Linked DNA regions of Homo sapiens: regions 1, 2, 3, 4 and 6 are each linked to region 5. The links are contacts of gene promoters, found by promoter capture Hi-C in blood cells and fetal thymus (Javierre and others, 2016). All regions are on one chromosome and are shown on one strand. Each heading gives the region's core, a stretch centred on a gene start or on the middle of the fragment in contact. The rest is flanking DNA. Distances are from core to core; before and after follow the strand shown. Region 1 overlaps SHC4 (SHC adaptor protein 4). Region 2 holds the start of EID1 (EP300 interacting inhibitor of differentiation 1). Region 3 overlaps GALK2 (galactokinase 2). Region 4 overlaps CEP152 (centrosomal protein 152). Region 5 holds the start of USP8 (ubiquitin specific peptidase 8). Region 6 overlaps COPS2 (COP9 signalosome subunit 2).

The links. Contacts are between HindIII fragments. The CHiCAGO score rates a contact against its expected background, and 5 or more counts as called.
Region 1: a contact is called between a fragment that was not itself captured here and the fragment with the promoter of USP8 in region 5, in 1 of 17 cell types (fetal thymus). The highest score is 6.4, in fetal thymus.
Region 2: a contact is called between a fragment that was not itself captured here and the fragment with the promoter of USP8 in region 5, in 7 of 17 cell types (fetal thymus, total CD8 T cells, activated CD4 T cells and 4 more). The highest score is 12.1, in fetal thymus.
Region 3: a fragment that was not itself captured here is called in contact with the fragment with the promoter of USP8 in region 5 in 2 of 17 cell types (fetal thymus and naive CD8 T cells); the score reaches 6.6 in fetal thymus.
Region 4: a contact is called between a fragment that was not itself captured here and the fragment with the promoter of USP8 in region 5, in 1 of 17 cell types (naive CD8 T cells). The highest score is 5.8, in naive CD8 T cells.
Region 6: a contact is called between a fragment that was not itself captured here and the fragment with the promoter of USP8 in region 5, in 2 of 17 cell types (naive CD8 T cells and total CD8 T cells). The highest score is 6.3, in naive CD8 T cells.

What each region holds. Positions count from the first base shown.
Region 1 is chr15:48,859,645-48,863,691 of GRCh38, reverse strand. The region is part of intron 6 of SHC4 (SHC adaptor protein 4); the gene reads left to right. Among named protein-coding and RNA genes, the nearest start is that of EID1, 16 kb to the left of the region's middle. The HindIII fragment of the contact is 1,015 bases long and covers 1,132-2,146 here.
Region 2 is chr15:48,876,982-48,881,594 of GRCh38, reverse strand. The region is part of intron 4 of SHC4 (SHC adaptor protein 4); the gene reads left to right. It overlaps EID1 (EP300 interacting inhibitor of differentiation 1), which reads right to left and starts at 3,461. Exons shown (of 1, transcript NM_014335.3): 1 at 1,422-3,461. The coding sequence starts at 3,418. The coding sequence ends at 2,855. RefSeq lists enhancers at 3,207-3,506, 3,777-3,886. The HindIII fragment of the contact is 1,047 bases long and covers 2,404-3,450 here.
Region 3 is chr15:49,235,241-49,239,278 of GRCh38, reverse strand. GALK2 (galactokinase 2) reads right to left here. Exons shown (of 10, transcript NM_002044.4): 4 at 3,338-3,428; 5 at 1-58. Among named protein-coding and RNA genes, the nearest start is that of GALK2, 67 kb to the right of the region's middle. The HindIII fragment of the contact is 2,742 bases long and covers 122-2,863 here.
Region 4 is chr15:48,803,445-48,807,966 of GRCh38, reverse strand. CEP152 (centrosomal protein 152) reads left to right here. Exons shown (of 27, transcript NM_001194998.2): 2 at 2,311-2,404. The coding sequence starts at 2,318. Among named protein-coding and RNA genes, the nearest start is that of CEP152, 5.4 kb to the left of the region's middle. RefSeq lists an enhancer at 1-471. The HindIII fragment of the contact is 2,862 bases long and covers 1,759-4,522 here.
Region 5 is chr15:50,422,839-50,426,979 of GRCh38, reverse strand. USP8 (ubiquitin specific peptidase 8) reads right to left here and starts at 2,575. Exons shown (of 20, transcript NM_005154.5): 1 at 2,466-2,575. RefSeq lists enhancers at 2,328-2,717, 2,756-3,752 and a silencer at 2,828-2,877. The HindIII fragment of the contact is 13,730 bases long and covers 2,027-4,141 here.
Region 6 is chr15:49,143,238-49,147,486 of GRCh38, reverse strand. It overlaps COPS2 (COP9 signalosome subunit 2), which reads left to right. Exons shown (of 13, transcript NM_004236.4): 2 at 2,409-2,522; 3 at 3,183-3,260. Among named protein-coding and RNA genes, the nearest start is that of COPS2, 10 kb to the left of the region's middle. The HindIII fragment of the contact is 904 bases long and covers 2,084-2,987 here.

The DNA.
Region 1 (4,047 bases), core at 390-2,889, 1.6 Mb after region 5:
GGTTTCGAGTAGTAGTTATTCTTGAACACTGCTGATAAAGAGTTTAGATTCAAACATTTTAAAGAGCAATTTGATCATTTGCATCAAACATCTTAAAAATGTAAATGCCTTTGAACCAGTAGTTTTATTTCTGAGGAAATAATTAGGATACGTACAAAGATTAAGCAATATAGATCATTTTTGTATATTATTTATATCATAAGACAAAATTTAGTATTCATAAGTAGCAAATTAAATAAACTCATAGAATGTACTATGATGCAGCAATTAAAGCTAATAGTAGAAAAATAAGTAATTATATGGGAAAAATATTCACAATGCTGTTAATGCAAAAAACATTATGAAGATTGTGTATAGTATAATCCCAGGTGACTTTTCTGGGTAGATACGCATTATAAGAAGATAGGAAAGACATATGGCAAAATGTTCCTAGTGGTTATTGAGATAACCACTGGATAGTGAAATTTTCTGTAATTTTTATTTCTTCTTGGTGCCTTTTTGTTTTCTAAAACTCTTACAGTGAATATTTATTACATTTATAAAAAGAAAAAATATCCAAAACCTTTGAATAAATGTTTTAAAATAATGAAATCAGAAAGCTGATGTTATAAAATTAACTAGCAAGTTTGTTTCATCCAGGAGAAAATGGCAGACAAGAGAAGCCCAGAGAGTAGGTCTGGGGCTGGGGGTGGGGCTGGCAGGGAGGGGAGGGAGGCAGGCCAGGCCTGCAGGTGCAGAAAAAAACTGCAACTTCTTAGCAGAACCTAGAAAGAAGAGGGCTAAGGATGTCAGGGAGTGGGGGAAGCCACAGGAGACAGTGACTTGCCTAAGGAGTAGTCAGGGGACAGGAGGAAGTCAAGAAATGAGTATTACCTAACAGAGGGGAAGAGCAAGGTTCTTCTGAAGGAGACATCTCAGATGGTCACACACTGAAAAGGAGTTAAGGGGCATGAGGGTGGGAAGATGCTATTTCGCCCAGCAATTAACAGGCCACTGGTCACTCTGGAAAGCTCAATTTTTGTACACCTAGAAAGGCAGGAGCCAGATTGCAGGGATGAGGAGGACAGTATGGTTGACAGGAAGTGGAGATGAGCAGAGGAGACTGGGCTTCATGCTGACAATCCCGAAGCTTCCCACTCTTCCTTTTGCTTGATTCGCTTTTAGCATTAGTGCATTTAAATCAGGGCAGTTCCCACTTTTTCCATCTTGGCTAGGACCCTTTAGTGAACTCTTCATTTTATCAAAGGCCTTTTTTATAGAAAAGGTTAAGTTCCAGTAAGAATGTTTTGAGTTTAGTTAGTGATTAATACACCCTGCTTCTGTAATTGCTGTAAATGAGGAAATCCACATTGTCTTACTCCAAATGTGTGGCAGTCCAGGAATGTTTTAATATTTTCCCTGAATCTAGTCTGTGAATAGGACTGGACTGCTTGGACTACCTGGATATAGGAAGGCCATGCTTCTGGGTCTCTGAAGAAAGTTAAAAAAAAAAAAACCCCAAAACCAGTAAAACCAACTTAAATTAATCCACTTATTTTTATTTATGTTTATAGTTATAAAGTATGCCTACGACTGTCCTGGTGGTATTAATTAGCTATGAACTGAATACTGGCTTGCCTCTTTGAGGTTGTTTCTTCCTAAAGTATGGAGGACTCCCTGCTTTGATCCCATAGCACCATCTGGTGGTTGACCTGAAAAGCTGAACTTTTGAATTTCTGGTTTTCTAAGTATAAAAGGAAAAGACAGAAACAAAACAAAAAAACTGTTTATTAAGAACAAATATAAAAGTAGTAAAGAAGTGTCTGTTATCCTTTAGTAATAGTTGTAATCCTCTTGTTTATGACTACCTAATTCAATAACCAAATAAAAAAGACAGATGAATATGTATCTCAGGTTCTTTTGAATCTTAGTTTAGTACTTGATACCCAGGGCTGGAAGTGTGAGCCCATCCTGCTACAGGTGGGATGAAAAAAATCCAGACTTTCATCTGATTCCAGACATGGGAAGCAAAGCTCAGGCCTTGGTAACAAAGTTACCATATCCCTGAAAAGGCACCCTCTTTTTTGTGACTTGGCTCTTTTTATATATAGTTACTTGTCTTTCTTCTTTCCCTTTAGCTGAAAATTGGGCAATTCTTGGCCAAGCTTTTGGAATTGGTTTTAATCCTGGGAAATGGGCATATTTATATGTGATTCAAGGCCCACCTCTATCCTGTCCCATGACCAACCTAAAAAAGACCATTTCCATAGAGCAACATAGCATGTCTATGAGAGGCAACAATGGAACTGTGAAAGTACATGTGCTCCCTGAAGGTGGTGAGACTGGGCAGAACATCTGCATGAGGTCAGTCTGTTTGTCTGCTGTTGCATCTTGCCTGGAGACAGACAGACACCACTGTTTGTTCTTTTATTTTTGTCCAGTCTTCTCAAGCTGGGTGTGTTGGGGCATGCCTGTAGTCCCAGCTACTTGGGAGGCTGAAGCAGGAGGATCACTTGAGCCCAGGAGTTCAAGTCCAGTCTGAGCAACGTAGTGAGACACCTGTCTCTATAATAAATAAAGTAATATGGTAGTAATAGGCTAATCCAAAGAAAAGCAGAAAATTATGTTGATAGCATCAGCCTATGAACAGGACCCAAACCTCAAAGCATCAGAATCAGAAAAGTTGAGATAAATAAGACATTCTAGAGGTACGCCAGAAGCGTTAGAGGCTGGTTGATGTGTCTGATTGATTCATTCATTTCTGTGTACCCACATGCCGCCCTGTTCCTCAGAGACTTTGAGCTTCCATGACAGAGGAAGAATAGGGTTTCTGTAAAACAAAAAGACTTCAAAGATGACTCAGGACATTGTCTTGGCAGACAAGGACCTTGCCATAAAGTGACTTGTTCAAGGTCACATAAGTAGTGGCATAATTGGAACTTGAACTCAGATCTGAATCTTTTCACGGAGTTCTTTTAAACATCCTATTCTCTCATCGCCCTCACTGGAAGTACAATTTAGCTTTTCTTATTTATTTATTTAGGCTTAAGTATCCTGCTTCTCTCATTATCTTCCTCATCTTCATCTCTCAACATCTCCTCAATCCTAAGAAAAAATAAAATTGCAAAAATTGTTGTTTCCATTTTGATATGACTTTCTATTTTGACTTCATTTTTATTTTTATTTATTATTATTATTTTTATTTTTGAGATGGAGTTTCACTCGTCGCCCAGACTGGAGTGCAATGACGCCATCTTGGCCCACTGCAACCTCTGCCTCCCAGGTTCAAGTGATTTTCCTGTCTCAGCCTCCCAAGTAACTGGGATTACAGGCACCTGCCACCATGCCCAGCCAATTTTTTTGTATTTTTAATAGATACGGGGTTTCACCATGTTGGCCATGAACTCCTGACCTCAAGTGATCCACCTGCCTCAGCCTCCCAAAGTACTGGGATTACAGGCGTGAGCCACTGCACCTGGCCTTGACTTCATTTTTAATTGGACTGGGAATTTACGAGATTAAAAACAAAAGGATTACCTTTTCTTTAAAAAAAAAGTATTTATTTGGTTAGGTTGCTAGCATATTAGTGTTAGGAGATATTTTATCATTTAAGCCATACTTGATATTATGTAAGCTCTCTCTCTCTTTCTTCCTTTCTTTCTTTTTTAGAGACAGGGTCTTGCTATGTTGCCTAGGCTGGGGTGCAGTGGCTATTCACAGGTGTGATCACAGTACACTAGAGCCTGCAACCCCTGGGCTCAAGTGAACCTCTCTCCTCCCTCCTTTAAGCCTCCCAAGTATCTGGGACTAGTGAATTACCTTTTCTTATAATGTAACACAGCTTCTCATGGCTCAACTGGAGGATACATCTCCAAGGGTACTTTTTAGGTCTCCGGATATGAGGCCTGACTAGCAAGGAGGAGACTATTTCCACAAATCACCTAAGAAATAATTTATATCACCTAGTAGCTATAAGAACATGTCCCATTGCAGGGACTCACTGCAATTCTCACTTCAAAAAACTCAAAGACAATTTCATACAGTAGCACTATTCATATGATTCAGAGA
Region 2 (4,613 bases), core at 1,678-4,177, 1.5 Mb after region 5:
TGAGACATCCTTTAGTCTCTACAAGGAGAGGCAACTTGAGATATTTAGAGGCCAAGTAGGTAATGCAAGCTGTGCAAGCACAAGAAAAAACAATGGTGCAGGCCCAATGATAAATGTCAAGTGCTACCTGGCCTCTGTGTTGGGGAGACAACACTGAGGGACTTGGCAAACAGAATCTTCCTTATCTAAAGGTGAATCAGATGGTTTTTTTTTTTTTTTGCTTTGTTTTTTTGTTTGTTTGTTGGCTACATAGGTCTATAGGTCAAAGGCTCCCAGATCTTTTACTTTAAAAAAATAATAATAAAAAGGTAAGAATCTAGATTTTTAGCTGCTGTCTCTGTACTGAGATGTTGGTCTCTTAAAATTATAAGCATGAACCAAACAAAATAGATCTGTGGCCTGAAGACAGTCAACATGGGATATCTGATCTAAGCGAACATTTATAATATGTATGGATAAATTTGGAAAACTCTCCCTAATCACACCGTGTACTCAAAATCTTCTTTAAATCCCCTACCTTGCAAAATCAGAATTTCCCCAGAACTCCTTTCTCTAGCTTCCTTAAATGAAGACACACACACACACACACACACACACACACACACACACTCTCACACACATCATCATTTAGTCCTCACAATTTGTAAGGTACATCCAATTGTTCCTATTTTCAGTTTAGGACATGAGCCAGAGAGATTAATTTCCCAGTTACTGAGCTAATAAATAGTAGAACCCAAATTTTAACCAAGTAGTCTGGTTTGTCTGTGGCAACTGCATGTAAAAGAAACACAAATAATTTTACACCCCTAAAAGGGGTGTTAAAATGTTTTCTATCCTCAATAAATACAAGTAAGTATTTACAATTTTCATTGTCTCTCAGCTTACTGCCTATTTTTAAGACTGAAAAACAACCAAGTCAATTGCAGAGCCCAGGTTTTTCTCCCCAAGATGGGCCTTCAGATGGAATAGTGTTTCCCACCCCCACCTCTTTGCCCTACTCAGTCCCAGAGAAAAACAGAATCACAACCTTCTAGTTTGTGGACCTCAGATTTTTTTTTCCAAGAGTTTATCTTTCCTAGTAAAGATAAACTTTCCTGGTAAAGATAAAGATCTGGAGGTAAATACAACCAGCCAGTTTATTGTGCACTAGCATACCCCCACCCACACTAATTTACATCATCCATGCAATTAATTACCTATCCACACTCATCTGACCGTAGCTGCACGCTAATTGAGAAAGCAGTGGAAGAGGCAGTAGGATTAAGTCTAAGCACCAACATTTTACTTCCACCATCTCTCCCTCCTAACCCAGCTAGTGTCTGAGCAATTCTGATCAGCCTTGTCACAGTCCTATCTTTTACAGATCTCTCTCCCCAAAAGACAGGATGACCATAAAATAAATAAGGCTCTGAATTGTCCTGTTGCATTGGATATTCGTTCTTTACTGCTATAATGGAGCAGAAGCATTTGGAACATTTTTACTGATCATGATAAAACCTGCTGATACACTTATTTTGCTGAACCTAGCCTTCTGATGTAATCATTACTCTCCTAGAACTTCAGCATCTTAGTAAGGTAACCACGGCAACATACTCATTGATAGGGCAGGTTTTCCCAGACCAGCAAATTCTTATAGGCAAAAACTTAATTTACAAAGTTTAATTTCCAGAAATTAATTTGTGAATTAGATAGCTGAAGCTGGATCATTTTCCCTTAATACTGGTTAACACATACAATAGAAAGTAGTATACAGAGAAAGTATGTATGCAATACTATTAGCCAAACAAAATACACAGAACAAGAAATTTTATTATCTCCAATGCTGGTGCATGACAAATAACAAGCTTAATTAGAGGAGGAGACAGAGGGAAACTTCAGATACCAAGGTAATTTCTGGGCAGGTTTAAAACCTTTAAAAGTTGATAGAATAACTGTTCATAAAGTCTTTTTAGATATAGCGCTTTTTACTTGACAACTTTTATTAACAGTTCTTACAATATGAAGTTCAACTAAAGTCCTTCATCTGTCAAGTTAAAACAGCAAGCAAAACAAAATTTCTCTAGTATATAACAGCATAAGCAATGGTTTGTTTTCTTTGTACATTCACACACATTTAGTGTCTAGATTTGAAACTTTTTAATTAAGGATGTCTTAATTTTTGACTTTTAAAAATGGTTATGACAATGGATTTTCTTGATTTATAGATCACAGTGGCTTTATAAATGATCAAGATACATGTACAAACAAAATTTCAGATGCTCTTGGAAACACATCTTAAGATACAAAGCACACGTGATACATATTTGAGTTTACTCATCCATTTATCTTACACTGAAAATGTAGCCTTTGATAACTGTGGCTTGACTAGATCACAAAATAGAATTTTCCAAGTTTTCTTAAGCTTTCAGTCCAAATAACTCAAAAGATATGTGTCCTAGTTGGATACATTTTTTTCTCATTATATAATTAGTATCAGTGGGCTTTTGTATTGGCAGTTTGTCTTGGTCATGACTTATTCTTGCAAAACCATCTTTACAGCAAACAAATATGAAAGATATTTTCCCCAATGCAAGGAAAATAATCTGGATCAATAACAAAGTCAAAGCCATAGGTGTTTTAGGACGTTCTTGATAATTGATTTCAACGGTCTTAAAATCTTTTTTCTTTTTCTTTAATGATTCTCTTCCTTTTTCACAACTGTGCAGTCACTGTCCTATTGTGTTCTATTCTGAAAAACAAATTTTTTTGAAGGTCAAGTTTTTCAATGGCACAAAACTATTTGGAATGAACCCAAAAGATAGCGGAAAGTTGGGTCCCTCCTCAAGTAGTTTCCTCCTCTTTTAACAGCATCTAACTACTCTCTATCAATAATCTCATCACAGCCGAGTTCTTCGGTCAGACGATTGACAACCATCAGTGAAAAAAGCTCTTCGATAAAAGCTAACTGATCAAACGGGGTCTTCTCATAATGCATCTGAAACCCGCCATCCAGGGCTGGTTCTCTTGTTCTCAGAAACATCTTGTCGGCTTCTTCAAGAGCGGCTGATACTCTGTAGCCGGCACCACTGAGCTGCTCCTCTTCGGGATAGTCGTAGTCGTCCTCCCAGTCATCAAATTCCTCGCCCTCGTCCTCGCTCTCGAAGTCTGCGCCCGCCACCTGGCCTGGCTGCTCCCCAGCGTTGGGCCCGTTAGCAAGGCTCCGTTTCCCCTCTGGCGCCGCCATTGGCTGGGCCTCCTCCTCCTCCATTGGGCCTTCCTCCTCGAGCTGTTGGGCCCCGCTGCGGGAGGGACGCAGGGATAGCTCCCGGCTCCCGCTGCCTACCTCCATCTGCGGAAGGTCACCCTCGCCAGGCATCACATCCATCTGCAGGTCACTGCTCTCTTCATACAGCTCGGACAACTCAGCCATTTCCGACATTGTGCAAACCGCTCAACCTCTAGGAAAAAGCTTCCAGCAAGACAGATGCTGCGCGGCCGTGCGTTCGTGCGCGTGCGCAAAGGCTGCGCGCTTGCGTAACCCCGCGCGCAGGCGTGGTCCTCAGGTACCGCCTCCTACTTGGCGCGCCACTGTGGTTGGAGTAGCTCAGTGTTTTCTCCGGGGTGTTGGCGTCGCCTTTTGAGCTACGTTTCCATCGATTCGAACTTCGTATCTAGGGACCCTGCATGCAAGAGCGTAACAGTTTCTGTGTTACTTAACCCTACTGCTGCTTGTAATGCTGCAAACCGGAAAATAACCTTACATGGCCTTCGTAACATTTAATGCTCCTTCCCCCCCTTCCTCTTCCCCTGGGCAATTTACCGATGTACTGATGACTTGTAAATCCACGTCTCCAAACCAGACAACATCCATAACCACAGATCAGCATATTAAGAACTAATCCATTTTGTCCTTTTAGTGTTTTCATTTAAAAAGTTAAATTCACAAACAACAGATATATTGTACTTTTTTTTTTTTTAGTTATAGTGAAGAAATACTTGGTCCCATTTCTTTTCGCCTGGGAGGTATCTTTCCACTATTAGCAATGCGGTGTGTATTCTTTGAATTCTTTTTATTTGCATTTACATGTATCTTTATGTATTGACAGCAAAATACTATTTTGTGTGTTTTTTAAAAACATGTTTTACCTGTTTTTACCTTCAACTTAAAAGCCTCAGGTTTTAAGTTGTATATACTTATATGAATTATATGACTGTGTATACTTACAGGATTCAAGCACATTTCATTTATTCTGCACTTTATTTCTATTATTATTACATTATAGTTATGTAGAATTATACAACTCACCATAATGTAGAATCAATGGGAGCCCTGAGCTTGTTTTCCTGCAACTAGATGGTCCCATCTGGGGGTGATGAGACACAGTGACACCCGAGGTGTGTTCCTTATGTCCGGTCTATTCTGTAATCTCATTTTGGTTGCTGTTACTGTGGAAAATCCTGCCTCACAAAGATAGGATGTTGAAAATGGAAGGAGGCTTTTCAGTACTTTTGTGGCAATCTCAGGATGTTCCGCCTTGACTTTAATCGAGAACGTATGGAGATTTGAAGTTGTCTCAAACATACTTTTAAGGCCACCGTCATTTGCAATATCAAGCAGTTGATCCTCTTCTAGC
Region 3 (4,038 bases), core at 243-2,742, 1.2 Mb after region 5:
GGATATTTCCATCTACCAGGCAGTTCATTCCAGTCAGGTTACTAAGACCAAAGTGTTCCTAAGAATATAAGGAAAAACAGCAACAGTAATTCAGTATTGAATTCAAGGAGTAGTGAAAGCTTCTTTCATTCCCCAGAGAACAAAAGTCTATCAATAGACTTATAATAGTTATAGAAACTACTTATGCAATTCAATTTAGTTGAGACTATATGTGACATTTTATTTAATGACTCTTAGCCACAGAGTAATTCCCTTAAATGCCTTTAATTTTCTTGCCTTGAATGTTCTTTTTCTTGAATATTAATTGATTTGAATATGGAAAAAATATAAAATTGCCTTGAATGTTCTTTTTCTTGAGTATTAATTGATTTGAACAAATATGGAAAAAATATAAAACAATTATAATCCAATTTGTCAAGTAGCAGGACAAGAAATATACAATTATCTGTGAGGTAATTTAAATCTCCATGCAGCACAACTCCAGCATTCTGTTATTATAAAAGTCCAGCCCCCAAGCAGTGACTTGTTTCTAAGGAGTGCCTTACTTTAGAAGGTTCTCTGAAAAAAAGGAGTTCCAAACATTCTCAGTTCTGTTTTACTTATGAAAAAACCTAGGCACCAAGAGATGAAGAAACTTTCCCAAGATGACACATAGGGAGACGAGAGTAGGGCCCAGGTCTCTGAATCCTGTTTGAAAACTTTTCCACTGCAGTTAGAAACCTGAGCCAGCAAACCGTCATTGTGATTTAATATGCCAGCTACATGAGAAAATCCAGATGCTTACTACAGTTTATAGATACAGTTTAGCCATATGGTAGCTTTAAAGATAGTCAAATTAGAATTCAGCCACAAATGAGAATACAGACCCTAAACAAGTTGAGGAAACTCTATTTCTACAAATAGGAAAGCCCAAAGAAATAATCAGATTCTGATTTAAATATGGAAAGCTCTAGTATACTTACATTACTTTCTAACACTAGGACACTTTGGATGATATCATATCATAACCTTTGTGGTTTAAGTTTACAAATAAATTCAAGTCTACCTCCTTCTCAAGAAAAAGTACCATAGTCTTTGCAAATTACTCAAATGACTGAAGATTAACATATGAAATACTATTACCTAATTATGCATTTCATCATACCTATTATACAAGGGAGAATTTCAATCAGCTAGCTAGAATAACTAAAATAACAACAAAATTCTGCAAATAAAAGACCTTTTTCCTTAATTTTTTGTCTGTCTGTCCTAGCTAGCAAAATTCTCGCACCACAATAAGAAGAAATTTAGCTGGGTGTACTTCTCTTCCTGATTTCAAGTCATCTAAAAATTTCCTTCCAGATATACAAACAAACTATAAACTGAAACTCTACTGTTGCCAATGCCCTTTCATACAGAATATCAGACAGCTTGTTTAAAAAAAAAAATTGAAGAATACAATATATTTAATATAAACTGATCAAACACAGGTGTCTTGAGTGGGAATCACACTTAAGAACTTATCAGCCGGGCGCAGTGGCTCACACCTGCAATCCCAGCACTTTGGGAGGCCGAGGCGGGTGGGTCACGAAGTCAGGAGTTCAAGACCAGCCTGGCCAATATAGTGAAACCCCGTCTCTACTAAAAATACAAAAATTAGCCAGGCGCGGTGGCAGGCACCTGTAATCCCAGCTACTAAGGAGGGTGAGGCAGGAGAATCGCTTGAACCCCGGGGGCAGAGGTTGCAGTGAGCCGAGATCACGCCACTACACTCCAGCCTGGGCGACAGAGCAAGACTCCGTCTCAAAAAACAAAAACAAAAACAAAAACAAAAAAACAAAAACAAAAAACAACGTATTATGCAATGTTTAAATGAAAATGTATAACAAATTCAAAATGCAAATGGGTATATGCCACATTCTGTAATAGCTCTATGCCAAAAGGATAACATGTTCAATGTAATATAAGTGAATTATTCTCTGAAACTTTCTAGTATTTGAATTTGAAAGTTTCTGAACAGGCTAGCATTTAAATTACCTTTCTGCCAAAAGTTCATTGTATAAGTTTGCTTTTGCACATAAATTGTCAAACCAAACAGGAAGGCTTTAAAACCTGAAATGCTCAAAAATAACACAAAGCAACATGCATTATTTAGGCCACTTTACCCATATGCTGCAAAAAGGCATGTTGTTACAAGGAAGATTAAAATTGCATTTGCCAGGCAAATGCTTCCAAATACTGTAATTCCCACTAATGCATATGATAAGCCAGATGATTTGAAGATTTAAAACCTGCCAATAACTTTTCCTGTAAGTTATTACCATGTGTCTGAGAGAAAGGAAAACACAAAAGAAAGAAAGAAATGAATTCATTAACTTTAAGAACAAAAACCACCACTGTTACAGTATAGGACTACACATTAGAAATAAATTTGATGTATTTCTGTAATGGATGTGCCACTAAGTCCTAGCTGCTCATTACAAAGTTTCAGATAGGACTGCCAGGCAGTAAGGAACACAAGCTCTCTAAAACATGGGTCAGTTTGTTTGTTTACTTTTAGCTCACAAAGGCAAAATTTACTTCTTATTGTCCTACTATGATTCTATGCAAGTCACTACATCTAAAATAATTATTGCAATATAAAAGTGGCTCTAAAAACAGCAAATATCAATTTTCTTTTGGTCCTTGATACTTTTTCAATTATGAGAGTGAAAACATTTTATTTTCTTGTTCTTGTATGTAACATTAGAGATTTTCAAAGTAATTATTCAATGTTTCTTGGAAAATACTTATACTAATACATTTCATTATATCTTTTTTTAATCCCATCTGAAGTAGCAATAACAATACTAGCTACCATTTATTAAATGGCTACCATCAAGCTTTATGTAATTCTTTTAACAACTCTTTGTCAGGATAGCAATGACATCATTTTATGGATAAATCTGAGACTTAAGAGGTTAAATTACCACAGCTGAGAAGAGCCCAGATTCAAACCTGGGCTGACTCTAAATCCTATTACAGTATACCCCTATACATCCCAAGTATAAATGTAAATAATAGTATTAAAACATATCCTCAAAAGTATGTTTAAACAAAGATTTTAAAACCAGACAGATGTTTGTCAGATGCACCTATTTATGAACAGCCAGCTGTATAAAAACCACTACTGCCCCCTGTGAACACCACCCCAAAACAGTCATATCTTCCCCACTCTCTGAAACACAAACTAGCAAAATAGAACAGAAGCATCGGTTAGTACTGTAAGGAGATGAAAAAGATGTAGTAAATAAAATAAATCTGACAGAATACACATGATAATCTCAACTGGTAGTAAGTGCCTTATAAACCAATTTACCTGAATTCCTTTAAGTCCACATAAGAAATAGTTGTGCCACAAAGGCTTGGTTTTATCAATCTGGATGTTATTAGCACTAGTACTGAAGTCCCTGCGAAGACAAAAGACACCATTAATTTAAAATCTGTAGGCCTTGAGCTGCAAAATCAATGGATGACTGCTGCCATCTTGTGCCAACACAGCGATACTGACTCTCCTTTACCTTTTATGTTCAAACTGTGTGTCTACAGCAAAACATCTCCAGCTGCTAAGAGTTAAGAGAGGAAGTTGCAGTGGCCTTAGTGACTAAACTACCTCCAACTGACCCTTTTTATTTCCTGAAACACAGAGGAAACAATATATTTCAGAGTAATCTACAACTATTTTCTCTTTCATGTTGGTCCTTGTTAAACTGGTGTAAACCACATGAATGCTTATCCTCTGGGCCTGCTGTTTGGCACACCCCCAAACTGAAACAAGAGTACTCAAAGCCATCTCTGCCACCCATCCAATTTTACCATCTGCACAATTTAAGAAAAAAAAACAAATAAACAAAATGATGATTTTGATGCATAATCAATTTAACAAAATAAGATTCCATGAGTCTATACTAATGTAAGTTAACAAATGAATACAAAGCTAAATGAAGAGGAAAGAAAAACTCTTTATTATGGTAAAATGCTAACTAATAGATATAGAAGGAATGATGTGAATAGAAAAGT
Region 4 (4,522 bases), core at 1,940-4,439, 1.6 Mb after region 5:
GACATGTTTTGAATTTAAAATAACATTAAAGATATATACTTTGATATTTTACATTCTCTTTAAAAACAAAACCCTAAGTATTCTCTATCTGAGAAAAAGTAGCTGTCTATTTAAAATATTAGTAGCTACATTTTTAGCAATAGGCTCTTATAAATCTTAATGTTCTTTTTCAATAATCAACATCAGTTGATGGCAGGTTAATAAAGGATGGGAACAAACCTCTCTTCTCTAACTTAATGAAGGAGAAAGTAACCCAAATTCCATATTTCGTCTTGTATTTATATTTGAATGAAAGAAAGGTAGAAGACACAGAATTCAGAAACAGAAAGGATTTTTTCTGCCTGGAGGATTCAGGAATTTCTTTAAGGTCCAGCTTAATTTCATCTCTTTTTTTTTTTTTTTTTTGAGACGGAGTCTCGCTCTGTCGCCCAGGCCGGACTGCGGACTGCAGTGGCGCAATCTCGGCTCACTGCAAGCTCCGCTTCCCGGGTTCACGCCCTTCTCCTTCCTCAGCCTCCCGAGTAGCTGGGACTACAGGCATCTCTTTTAAGGACATAGGATTTAATTGGGCTAGTATTTTCAATATATATAGTGTTCTGTAGAATATTAAGTCTATTTGCATAGTGGAAAAAAATCTAGAGACATGAGATTGTGTGTTTTTCCCTCACCATTTCATGTTACAGGCTTTTTATCATATTCATATCTTCATCTTATGTTGACATACAAAAGGATTCTTATAGATAGATTTATTTTCCTCGATATGCATGTCTCTTCCCCCGTTTAGCCCTGTCACAAGGGTAGAAAGGAATAGGTGTGGTCTGAGAAGCAGAGGCTGGAGGGTTTTAAGTTGAGGTATAGTCTGAGTTGATATGAGTTTAAAGGGACGGGTTGGGTGTAGGGACCAGAGAGGAAGGGATTAGAAGGTAGACTGCAAATTAGAGGTTGGCCAAGAAACATAACTCAGTCTTTGAAAAACAAAAACTTGTCATAGGGGGATTTTTACCACTGAAGTTCATATGTATGTTAATCTTTAATACCATATTCATCTATTCTAGCTTGCATATTTTCTTTTCACACTTTAATATCTACAACATAGACTGCGTCCTAAAATTAATGTTATGTCATAATTTGATTGGCTACATCTCGTTCCTACTGCTACAAATGGAACTGCATCATAGAATCAAAGACATCTTAGATCTGATGAAATGGGATATTGTCTGCTCTAGAGCTATTGGCTTCCACAAAAGTTTGTGATATAGTTCGTATCTGTTAAGACGAGGGAGCTAAGTTCTCTATGGTAAAATGCATTTGGATTGCTGGGTCTCCATGCTTCTGATTTTACTTCCAATTTAATGACATTTTAGAGCTTGAAAGGTGTAGTGAATGAGTTGTGGCTCAGGCTCACATCCAAGTGCGTTTCATTGGCATGAACAACAGTGGACTGAATGGAGGGCAGTGTTAGGCCAGGTAATTGATGACACCTGCCTACTTTTTTGTTGTGATTGTTCAGAGCTTTGAAGTTCTGAGGAGTTTATGTATAGTGTCAGGATCCCTAAGTACAAGTTAAATCAGCAGCAGCTTTTTTGAATGTAAGTAGTTGAAAACCCATTTCCTGCTGCTGCTTCTGCCGCAGCAGTCACTGCTCCCCAGGGAACTCTTGCTGTTGCTTTTGGAATTGGAAGTCCACAGTGGTGGAGCTTCACAGCCTTCACTTCTGTTTTTCCCGAGTATATTGCCAGAACCTGATTTTATCAAGCTTAAGAGGAGGACATTTAAGACTTATATTTTGTTGTGCACTCTATGGCATTGACTGAATTGTAAATGGTTTCTGGGTAGTAGTCATTCACTCATGATTTAGGGGCCTTCTTCTTGTAAAGCATGATATTTGGATTTCTGATATTAAAAAAAAATGAAGCAATAGGGTACTGCCTGTGCCATGTTTAATATATCACATTTGAAGTTTTGTTTGAGCTTAAGATTTTTACATTTGGCACATTTCTAGTTTATTATTATTGTCATCTTATTTTTCATGTCGGCAAAAATCTTACTGTTTTATACTCTTCAGACCACTAGAAAGGTCTATTCATAGCTTTATTACCTATTTGCATGTTTTCTTTTCCATGAATTGCTGTCATATAGCTATTTTCGGTGAATCACCATTATTTTTATTGGCCATAACTGAGTTATACATATTTTCTCCCAGTCTGTTTCTGTCTTTTCACTTTGTGTATGTATGGCATCTCTTATGTAGTTTGTCCTGGGGAGATTTTATGTGGTGTCCAGAAACCAAACATCTTTCCCTTCCCACAGGAGGACCATGTCATTAGACTTTGGCAGTGTGGCACTACCAGTGCAAAATGAAGATGAAGAGTATGACGAAGAGGACTATGAAAGAGAGAAAGAGGTAAGTTGTTAAAAAAAAAAAAAAAAAGAGACACTAAACCCAATCTTTAACAAGTTTTATTTCTTGATCAAAATTGTATCATCTTGTGTCATTTTGAAGGGATTTGGATTTTTTAAAAAAAAAACAACCCTAAAATCTGCTTGCTATTTAGACTGAAAAGGTGAATAAGTGGAATGCTTCTGTTTTTGAGACAGGAATAAAACACAACTGTGAATAATACCATCAGATAAATGGTTAAATTTTTCTTTTCATTTAGGAGGTAATGGTTGGCTTTGGAAGTGGAAGGTTAGTTTCTAGGTGCTTGAAACATTGCCATGAACAAGTCTGACAAGGCTCTTTGCTTTGGGTAGTTTACATCCTAGTGGAGGCAGACAATAAACAAGTAAACAAGTGAGTAAAGTAATTTGAGTGAGTGATAATTTATCATTGATAAATGACAGGGAAACAAATTGGAGTGCTATGAAAGCAATTGATAGGGGATTGCTGTAGATGGGGTGGTGAGGGAGGGTCTGTGGGAGGAGGCAATATATGAGCTGAGACTTGACTCATGAGAAGGAACCAGCCATGCAGAAGCCTGAGGAAGAGCAGTCTACGCCAAAACACCAATGAGTGTAAGCTGGGAAGTTGGGAAGAGACCCCGTGTATGCCACAGATCATGTGGAGCGGCCAGAAGGCCATGGTATTGGGTATATATGAGCCAGTGTTGGGTGGTGGATGTGGGTGTCAGATCATGGAAAGCCATGATAAGGTGTTTGTATTTTATTCTAAGAACAATGGGAAGCCAGTGGAGGATTTTAAGCAGGGAAAATTGATATCATATTTTTGAAGATCTTTCAGAAGGCTGCATGGTGAATAGATTATAGAAGGAAAGGAATAAAAGGGAGAGACCATATTATTTATATGTAAAGTGTTTAGCAGAATTCTTGGCACATAGCAAATGTTCAGTAAATGGTGGCAATAGTAATAGCAGCAGTAATAGTGTTATTGGTGGAAGTCAATTTAGTTGTTTTGGTTGTTTTTAGTGTAAGTCAAATTTCTTGATTGTCTGTGATAAAAGGCTTCTTTTGTCCTGACGCTATTTTTTATATGACCCATTTTCTAACATGTAAAAAAGTCTTTTTTAATAGTTATTGTGGACCATGAGTATTAACAGGAAGCAAGGAATAGGGTCAGTTGACCATTGCTCATGTGGCTGGTGGTAGAATTAAGGCAGTGATAGAAAACTGGCAACTTGCTGGATTTGGTTCAGACAGGTATTGTTGGTTGCAGAGTGCTTTTAAAAAATTGAATCTGTATTTGAAGATGGGAAAATTTTATGCAGCACTGCAGAGTCTCTGGCTTATCTAAAAAACATCCAAAGCCCTGGCCACACCTGGCCTGTATTTGCACATGGCAGCAGGCGGGCTGGAACTGAGCAGTGGCTCTCCTTCCCCAGCTGGCCACAGTCCCCACTTCTCACACAGACATGGGCTTATGCACTCAGACCTGCCTGCTTCACTCTGGTAAATTCTCTGCCAGGGCCCTGAGGGCATTTGAGTTTATGACCCTGGTGAGGGTTTCCGGATTTTGGCAGGGCCCCTCACAACAATTGTGGCAAGGATGGGAATGAGGATTTTCTGTTACTTTGAACCTGCAGCATGAGGTATTCATGACTGGGCTTGGATAGTTGGCTGGGGTTTAGCCACTGGGATTCTTGAGAAGGTCAGTTTAAATAATCACTACTGTAAAGAAGAAAAAATATTTTGACAGGTGATTTTTCATTGAGAAATATATTAGAGAGATAGGTCTGCCAGTGTATTGTGTGGTTAAAATTTTAGAGGGGATACTAGTTAAGGAGGCAATTAATTCTAGATAATATAGAAAACAGCTATTTGGGATCACCTCTTTGATAGATTGTATGCTGGGATAGGGAATTTCAGGGGAAAAGTTGTTCTTGAAAGATCAAGTATCTAAGAATGAGTATTTCTAGCAGAGTGGAAGGATATATAGCTGAATTGACTCTAACATGATGATTATGGTTAAATTTGTAAAAAACTTCATGTTAATAAAAATATTTTTACTTTAAAAAATAATTGCTGCAAGGGAAAAAGTGAGATGAGAGGCTAGAGAGGTTCAAAT
Region 5 (4,141 bases), core at 1,326-3,825:
CATCTCAAAAAAAAAAAAAGAAGAAGAAGAAAGAAAGAAACTGGAAATTGGAAGTGTACCTGATTCTTCATCTGCTATATAAATGCAAACAAGAGTCCAATACAACTTTGTCATCAAAATTATAGTAGGCAAAGCACGGCCACAAATTCTTTGACATTTTTCCTTTCAAAGGTGAGGGTTGTACGCTGGTCTTTGCTCTAACCAACAGAGTATGTTGGAAGTAATGTTGTGCGAATTTCTGGGCTCAGGCTTTTTGGGAGACTGGCAGCTTCTACTTCCTGACTCCTCAAACATGTATTCTCGGAACCTAGCCGCCATACTGTTCAAGTCACGTGAAGAGGCTATGTGTGGGCATTCCAGTTGACATTTCCAGCTGAACTCCTAGCCAACATCAAACGCCTTCACGTGAATTAGCCATTTTGGATGTCCAGACCAGCTGAGCTCTCGGTTGACTCCAAACTCAGCTGCTTATCTGAATACAAACGCATTAAACTCTAGGTGAAAACCACTTAGCTAAGTCCAGGCAGGCCAGAGAAACAGGAGAGATACTAAATTACAGTTTTAAGTCACTATGTTTTGGAGTGATTTGTTATGCAGCAATAGGTAACTGGGACAACAACAAGGTATTTTTTAAATGTTTCCTTAATTATATCTAATTTTATTAGCAACACATACCTGAAGACATTTTTTTCCTTTCACTTCCATAAATATGAGTGCATTTTCATGGAGAAAAGTTCGTAATATAGTGCTAGACTTATGAAAAAAATTTAATGTACTGGCTTTATTTTCCAACTGTCTTACCCAAAAGTCATTTTGATTATTTTCCATTATGTCCACGCTTTTTATTTTTTATTTTTTGAGACGGAGTTTTGCTCTTGTCACCCAGGCTGGAGTGCAATGACGCAATCTCGGCTCACTGCAACCTTCGCTTTCCAGGTTCAAGCGATTCTCCTGCCTCAGCCTCCAGAGTAGCTGGGACTACAGGCGTGCACCACCACGCCCAGCTAATTTTGTATTTTTAGTAGAGACCGGGTTTCGCCATGTTGGCCAGGCTGATCTCGAACTCCTGACCTCAGTGATCCGCCCACCTCCGCCTCCCAAAGTGCTAGGATTACAGATGTGAGCCACTGCGCCCAGCCACGTCCACATTAATAAACAAATGCCCATAAAGATTAAAGTCCAAGTAAATATATTAAAAAACGAAATGCTAAAAAAGGCACCTTTAAAACATTTTTGTTAGTTTTTCTTATACATTGTTTTCTTAAAAAAACAGATGTCTATGTGCAAAATTTCATTAATGAGAGGTGTATTTTTTTTTTAAACTACTACAGGGTCTTCACTAATATTAAAGATGCATCCAATGTGTCACAAGAAAAGGAATACATATTTCAAAGCAGCCATATCAACATGATAAAGACATAACACAACCGATATCACCTTCCAGATATGCTTAATAGTCCAGGGATATGCTGTAAGGAGAAACTACCCAAATCCATCATGAATGACATTCACCAACGAATCTTAAACAGAATCGGCTGAAATGCAAAAATCTGCTTACATAGCAAAGCCGCAGCAGAGCAAGCCTAAAACAGGAATACTTCCTTAACAAATACCACTTGGCATTTTTAATGGCTGCAGCAAGATATTTACAAAACTAACGATGCTTTGCAGATTCAGAAAAGGTAACATCCTTTAGATATAAATCCCTTTCATCTGAAACCCTCAGGTCTCTTAACAAATACTAAATTCCTTAGGCTCTGCAACACCTCCGTGTCAGGTAAATTTTTTGTTAGTGATTAAGTGACTTGTTCAAGGTCACAGAATGAACTGGAGGCAAGAAATAAACCCAGGAGGGTGGTCTGCAGCTTTATAATGCACATCACTGCTAGTAAGGATTCTGATAATTTCCAAGGTGGAGTGGCGGTGAAATTAACTTGTCCCACAACTCTAGGATGGAAGGCACTTTTTAGGGGAAAAAAAAAAAATCTTCTATTTGAGGAAGTCATAGTTTTAACTCTGACAAGCTTATAGGGTCTTTAAACTCAAACTTCACTAAAATCAAGTGTGACTGGGGAAGAAGAGAAACTGGGAAACAGTTTTAGGAGCTACAGTAAGGCCTGGGATTGTAGGCAGATTGCAGAAAAAAAAAAAAACCGGAAGCAAGAGGAAAGAGGTCAAAGTCGGGTATAAGTGTCCAAGAGAACGGAAGATTGGTCAAAGCCACCTTTTAAAACCAAAAAAACACACGAAACTCGCTTGGCAATCCTAGGTAGATGGCGTAAAAGACTCAAGGTTGGGCCTTTCCTCTCCACAAGCTGATTCTACCTTTAGGAGTTGTCCCACTCCTCTCCGCGGACAGAGCTTGTCTCCGGGGTAACCAGCAGCTGGTGGAAGGAAAGGCGTTCATCGTTCACAGCGGACGACTTCCCAGAGAACAGGTGCTAGGGCCCAAGACCCGCACTCACCGTGACGCCGGGCGCGCTTCACTAACGCCAGCCTTCTCGCCAAATGCCCATCTCCCAAGAACTCGAGGGAGAATTAGCCTTGGCTACCAGGACGGAAGCCAGCCCAGCTCACCCCCTTTTCCCGATTTGCATTGCGAGGCGACGCGTCGCGTCTCCAGACGTCACGGCAGGGGCGGGGCTTCGCGTGCGCTCCCTTGACTCCTCTCTCTTCCACCGCCCTCCCCTTTTCGGTGAGGGCCGCGGGGCGAGGGATGGTCGAGGGAGGGTCGAGGAGGACGTTATGGGTGGGCGGTGGCGGCAAGGGCGGGGTTTCTCTGAGTCGGGTCAACATAGTTGGCCGGTCCCTTACCCCCCGCACTGCACCCTGCATTTCCGGGTTGCAAGGCGGCGCCTGGGCCTTGTTGTGGAAGAAGCAAGGTTGCTCTTGCGTCCCTTTACTACGTTATTTTCCTCCTCAGATTGGAAATTAGAAAAAAGGGGATTTAACGCCCCTCTATTTCTGGCTAAACATTCTCTGAAGCCAAGCCTTTGGTCAAAGAAAAACAAGTATTATCCTAAAACATATTTTATGTACAATTTTTAACGTCACTTAAAAGGCCCCGGCGAGGCTGGGCACGGTGGCTCACGCCTGTAATCCCAGCGCTTTGGGAGGCCGAGGCGGGCAAATGATGAGGTCAGGAGTTCGAGACCAGCCTGGCCAACATGGTGAAACCCCCGTCTCTATTAAGAATACAAAAAATTAGCTTGGCGTGGTGGCGTGCGCCTGTAATCCTAGCTACTCCAGTGGCTGAGGCAGGAGAATTGCTTAAACCCGGGGAGCGAAGGTTGCAATGAGCCGAGATCGCGCTACTGCACTCCAGCCTGGGCAGCAGAGCAAGACTCCGTCTGGTTGGGCGAAGGCCCCGTGTAATAGAAACGAAATGAGACGTCTGAACTTTCTCGCGAGCTGATCTTTGTACTCTCTTAGAGAAAGGTGATTGGATGCTCCGGTTGCCTGTAAACATAAAATTGACTTGGGTGGAGCTTTAGGCAGTAGTCACTAAGTCCTCAGGAACATTCCAGGTGTCTCAGGGATGGGAAATCTGGCTAGCGAGGTCTAGTAAATGCTTTAAGTGAAAGTGTGTGCCACATGGTACAGTGTACACTGCTCGGGTGATGGGTGCACCAAAATCTCAGAAATGACCACTAAAGAACTTTTCCATGCAACCTGTTCCTCCAAAACTACTGAAATAAAAATTTTTAAAAATAAAAAAGGATAAAATAAAGAAAGTGTGTTCAATGAATTTGTGATGAAGGCCAGGTTGCAGTGGCCCAGGCCTGTAATCCCAGCACTTTGGGAGGCTGAGGCAGGAGGATCCCTTGATCCCAAGAGACAGAGACCAGCTTGAGCAACAAAGGGAGACCCTCATCTCTACAAAACAAAAATTTAAAAATTAGACCGGGAGCGGTAGCTCACGCCTGTAATCCCAGCACTTTGGGAGGCCAAGGTGGGCAGATCACTTGAGGTCAGGAGTTTGAGACCAGCCTGGCCAAAATGGCAAAACCTGGTCTCTACTAAAAATACAAACATTAGCTGGGCATGGTGGCGCGTGCCTGTAATCCCAGCTACTGAGGAGGCTGAGTCAGTGAATCGCTTGAACCTGGAAGGTGGAGGTTGCAGTGAGCCGAGATCGTGC
Region 6 (4,249 bases), core at 1,286-3,785, 1.3 Mb after region 5:
TCCAAAATACTAGTCCTACTGTTGTCATGTATACCTTTCAGCTTCTACTTTCCTCTTCTCGAAACCTGACCTAATTGTTTTTTCTAATTTGTTTTGAGCCAAGAAACCAAAAATAAATGGACTCTGAATTTTTACTTTGTGATCAATGTAAATCAGAAATACTTTTCATTTTACTTCCAGGTTCAAGGCTGCATTCTGAAGGTTTGGGTTGCAAAAAAAAGTAATTTTCTGGTTCAGCAAGCTATTCCTCTATCTTATTCAACACTGTTAAGTGAAGTTTTTATTTTAGTTATTGTATGATAAATCATATATGGTAAATCTGTTTATATTTGTTCCAACTTAATAAAACAATTAGAAAAGAGCTGATTTCCGAAGGCATAGAGTAGGTTTTATAGCTGTGATTCTTTACTCCAAGTCTTCCCTAAAGAATACCCTTAGGCTGAGATCTGAAATGATAAGCAGTAGTTAACTAGATGAAGAGAGGTAGAGGTAGAGGTGGAAAGAGAGAGAAATAGCACATAAAAGTGGGAGAATTTGGCACTTGTTGAGTTAAGGCCAGGATGGCTGCAGCAAAGTGAATGAGGGAGAACTAGATAGGAGATAAGGTTGGACACAGGAGTCAAGTTTTGCTGATTTTGCTCTCGATTTTAAGAGGAATAGGAACCATTTTTGAGGAGAGGAATAAGATAATTTACATTTTGTGAAAATTATTTCACCTGCTTAACCATGAGGATATTAGAACTTAAAAAGGAGAATGAGAAGGCTGCTAAAGTTTGTGGAGAGATGAAAGTAGTTGGGTAGGGTAGGGTGGTAGCAGGCAGGGGGTTCGGGAGTGGATAGATTTGAGATTTATTTTGAAGGTAGAGTCAATAAGGATTTTTATGTTCCAACAAATAGTTACCTTTCATTGTTTATGCTGTTACTACGTGTACTATTCTCTTTATCCTCTCCTGTTTTGTCTAGTGGGCAAACTTCCATTTATCTTTCAAAACCCAGGTTTGAAGCCATCACTGTCACAGCATCATTCTGTGTATGGTTGGCTTATTCATTCTTTACTAATTTCTCTTTTTTTTTAGCTTGATCAGTTTCTTTGTAGTCAAGCCTAGATTACAAGGGTTAAGAAGTAAATGAATAATTATGAAACTTATTTACTACCTAGTTTCATCTTGTCCCTAAAAGAAGTGTTCCAAGTGATTTTCATATGTTAAACAGAATGGAATTCCAGGTCTTAAATCTGTAAGACTGACAGACTCAGGTCTTCACACGAGGAAGGAATTATCCTCCAGAGGGCGCACATTACAAAGCCACTCTTGATTATTGAAAAATTCATCTTGTGTTAATGTATTTTTGAGCTTTCAAGTAACTTATTATACACAGCATACCTTTCTTCACTCCTATGCTTTTATGAGACTGTAACAGAATTTTTCATAAATATCTCATAAAGAAATTTGTTACCTGTATTTGGATTTAGAAATAACTATAAAACTATTCTTGTCTTTTTGTGTTTGTTTCCAGGTACTATTCTTAATTTGATATAAACTTGCCCTTTGTAATGACTTAAAGCTGAGAAGGAAATAATCTATATCTTATGACTCATAAGATAATAATTTCCATTATACCAATCCATGTGTATTTTGTAATCCTCATTATTAGGTTGAATGTCCTGGAACTGTGTAACACTCTTGTTTATACTGCTCCACAAAATAGTTGTTTTATTCCAGTTTTCCCTTCTGCCTTGTTTTTTTTCCACTAAGAATTGAACTCATGTAATAGAAAGTCTCATAAAATTATATAAATCCATTTTGTTTTATTTATTTTGATTTGTTATAAAGCTGATTAAGTTAACATTAGTATAAACAGCTGTTGTATAGTGCACATAAGGAAAGTATTCTTATTAACATAATTATATTTAGTGCTAGATGACTTTGCCATGTGTAGATTACCATCCTAGCTGGTTTTAAACCGTGTTACAATAATGAAATTTAGACTTGGGGAATAGAAAAATTAGATTACAGAACCAAAGATTAATAATTAGAACACATCTACGTTAGGTTTCCCTCAGATTTCATGACTAACGAAAGCTTAGCAACTACAGAATTGGGGTCATTAACCAATATTAGGTTGCATTCTTCTTTTATGTTGATTCTATAGAAATTTTAGCTTTCATCTGAAAGAAAGTAATGATTATATTCTGCTATACACTTGATTTTGACTCCTCCTTCCTCCTCTCTTCAACCCCTGGTTTTATATAACAGTTGAATATCAGTGGCATTTTACGTATGTATTCAAGGTTGTTTTGTTTTGTAAAAATATGTGGTTTTTCTGTCTTAACAGCATTCACTTTTTACGTTGCTACGTGTGGGTTTCTTTTCTTTTTTTCTTTTAATATTTCTTTCTTTCCAACACAGGAATACTCTGAAGATAGTAACTCCGAGCCAAATGTGGATTTGGAAAATCAGTACTATAATTCCAAAGCATTAAAAGAAGATGACCCAAAAGCGGCATTAAGCAGTTTCCAAAAGGTTTATATTCTTTTCCATTTGATTCTATGTGTTAATTTTTTTAATGATATGCTAGAACAAATAAGTCCCAGGTGATTTTATCTCAGAAATGTGTTTTGAATACTTAATTATCCTATCAGTTAGCATTAGGCAGCACAAGCAAGTGTTTCAAAACGGTTATCCTGATGTTTTTTCCAATCAAGCTGTCTATGGAGCAGGGCCATTGTCCTGAAAAACTAGGATGGTTCTGGCAGAAGAACCACCAACATGATGGTCAGTAGGTATTATCACTGCAATCTTGTTTCTTTTAGGGGTAAATCATACAGTTGTGGTTTCATTATTATGAATAGCTTGATTTCTTGACTTACTGATACACTTACGGATTATTTTTACCATAGGTTGGTTATTCAGGGGAAAAAATATTTCAGAAACTATATAATAATCAAGAAGTGGCTCTTTATTTTGCTGATGAAGGAACTTTAAGCTTGCTTATCCTTATGTAGGCATCTTACAACTTGTTTTTTTTAAAGACTGAAAAATGACATTGAGAAATGGTGGTATCCTTGGGGAAATGTTTTTTATGCATATAGTATAAAATTAATTCAATACTTACACATTGGGCATCATTAGAAAATAATGTGTTAATATTAAGATAAACTAAAAATTTCTTCCTCTTTTTAGGTTTTGGAACTTGAAGGTGAAAAAGGAGAATGGGGATTTAAAGCACTGAAACAAATGATTAAGATTAACTTCAAGTTGGTAAGATTTGTTTTGAGGGGAATTAAACTAATAAATTTTGTAGGTAAAAACCTCATCACGACAAAGTACTATTATATCTTCTTTTCTAAAGTACTTCTTTGGATGTGTTTTTATATTTAGTCTGCTCTGCAGTTGGGACTATAGTAATACTAAGTAAAAAAAACAAATTCTTCATAGGATACAGAAGTTTTCTATTTAAGAAAACTTACTCTTTTAGATGCATTTACAGTATTTGCCTTTTTTTTTTTTCCCCCGCTCTGTCACCCAGGCTGGAGTGCAATGGTGCAATCTTGGTTCACTGCAACCTCTGCCTCCTGGGTTCAAGTGATTCTCCTGCCTCAGCCTCCTGAGTAGCTGGAACTACAGGCACATGCCACCATGCCCAGCTAATTTTTTGTGTTTTTAGAAGAGACGGGCTTTCACCATGTTAGCCAGGATGGTCTCGATCTCCTGACCTCGTGATCTGCCTGCCTTGGCCTCCCAAAGTGCTAGGATTACAGGCGTGAGCCACCGCACCCTGCCAGGGCTGCATTATTAATAGATTGACTTTTCCACAAAGGATTAGTGTTTACTTTGGAGTTTTAAAATTCTCCTGTTTATTATAAAGAGTTTCTCTTCCATTGACTAGGGCCAAAACGTTAGCATTATGCTTAACTCTTCTCATTGTCTATTACCCCACAAATAATCCATTGGCAAATCCACATGGCTTTACATCCAGTATGACTGTGCTTACCATTTCTACCTCTGCTACTCTGGTCCAAGGCACCATGATTTCTTACCTGGATTATTGAGATAGCCTCTTAACTGGTCTCCTTACTTTCATCCTTACCCTGCTACAGTTTTCCACAAGTAGCAGAGTGATCCTTTTAAAATGTAAGTCAGATTATGCCATTCTTTTGCTCCATATCTTCTAGTGGTCCCCATCTCCCTTAGTAAAATCCAAAATTCTTACCATGACCTACAGATCCCTATGTAAGCTCATCCTTTGC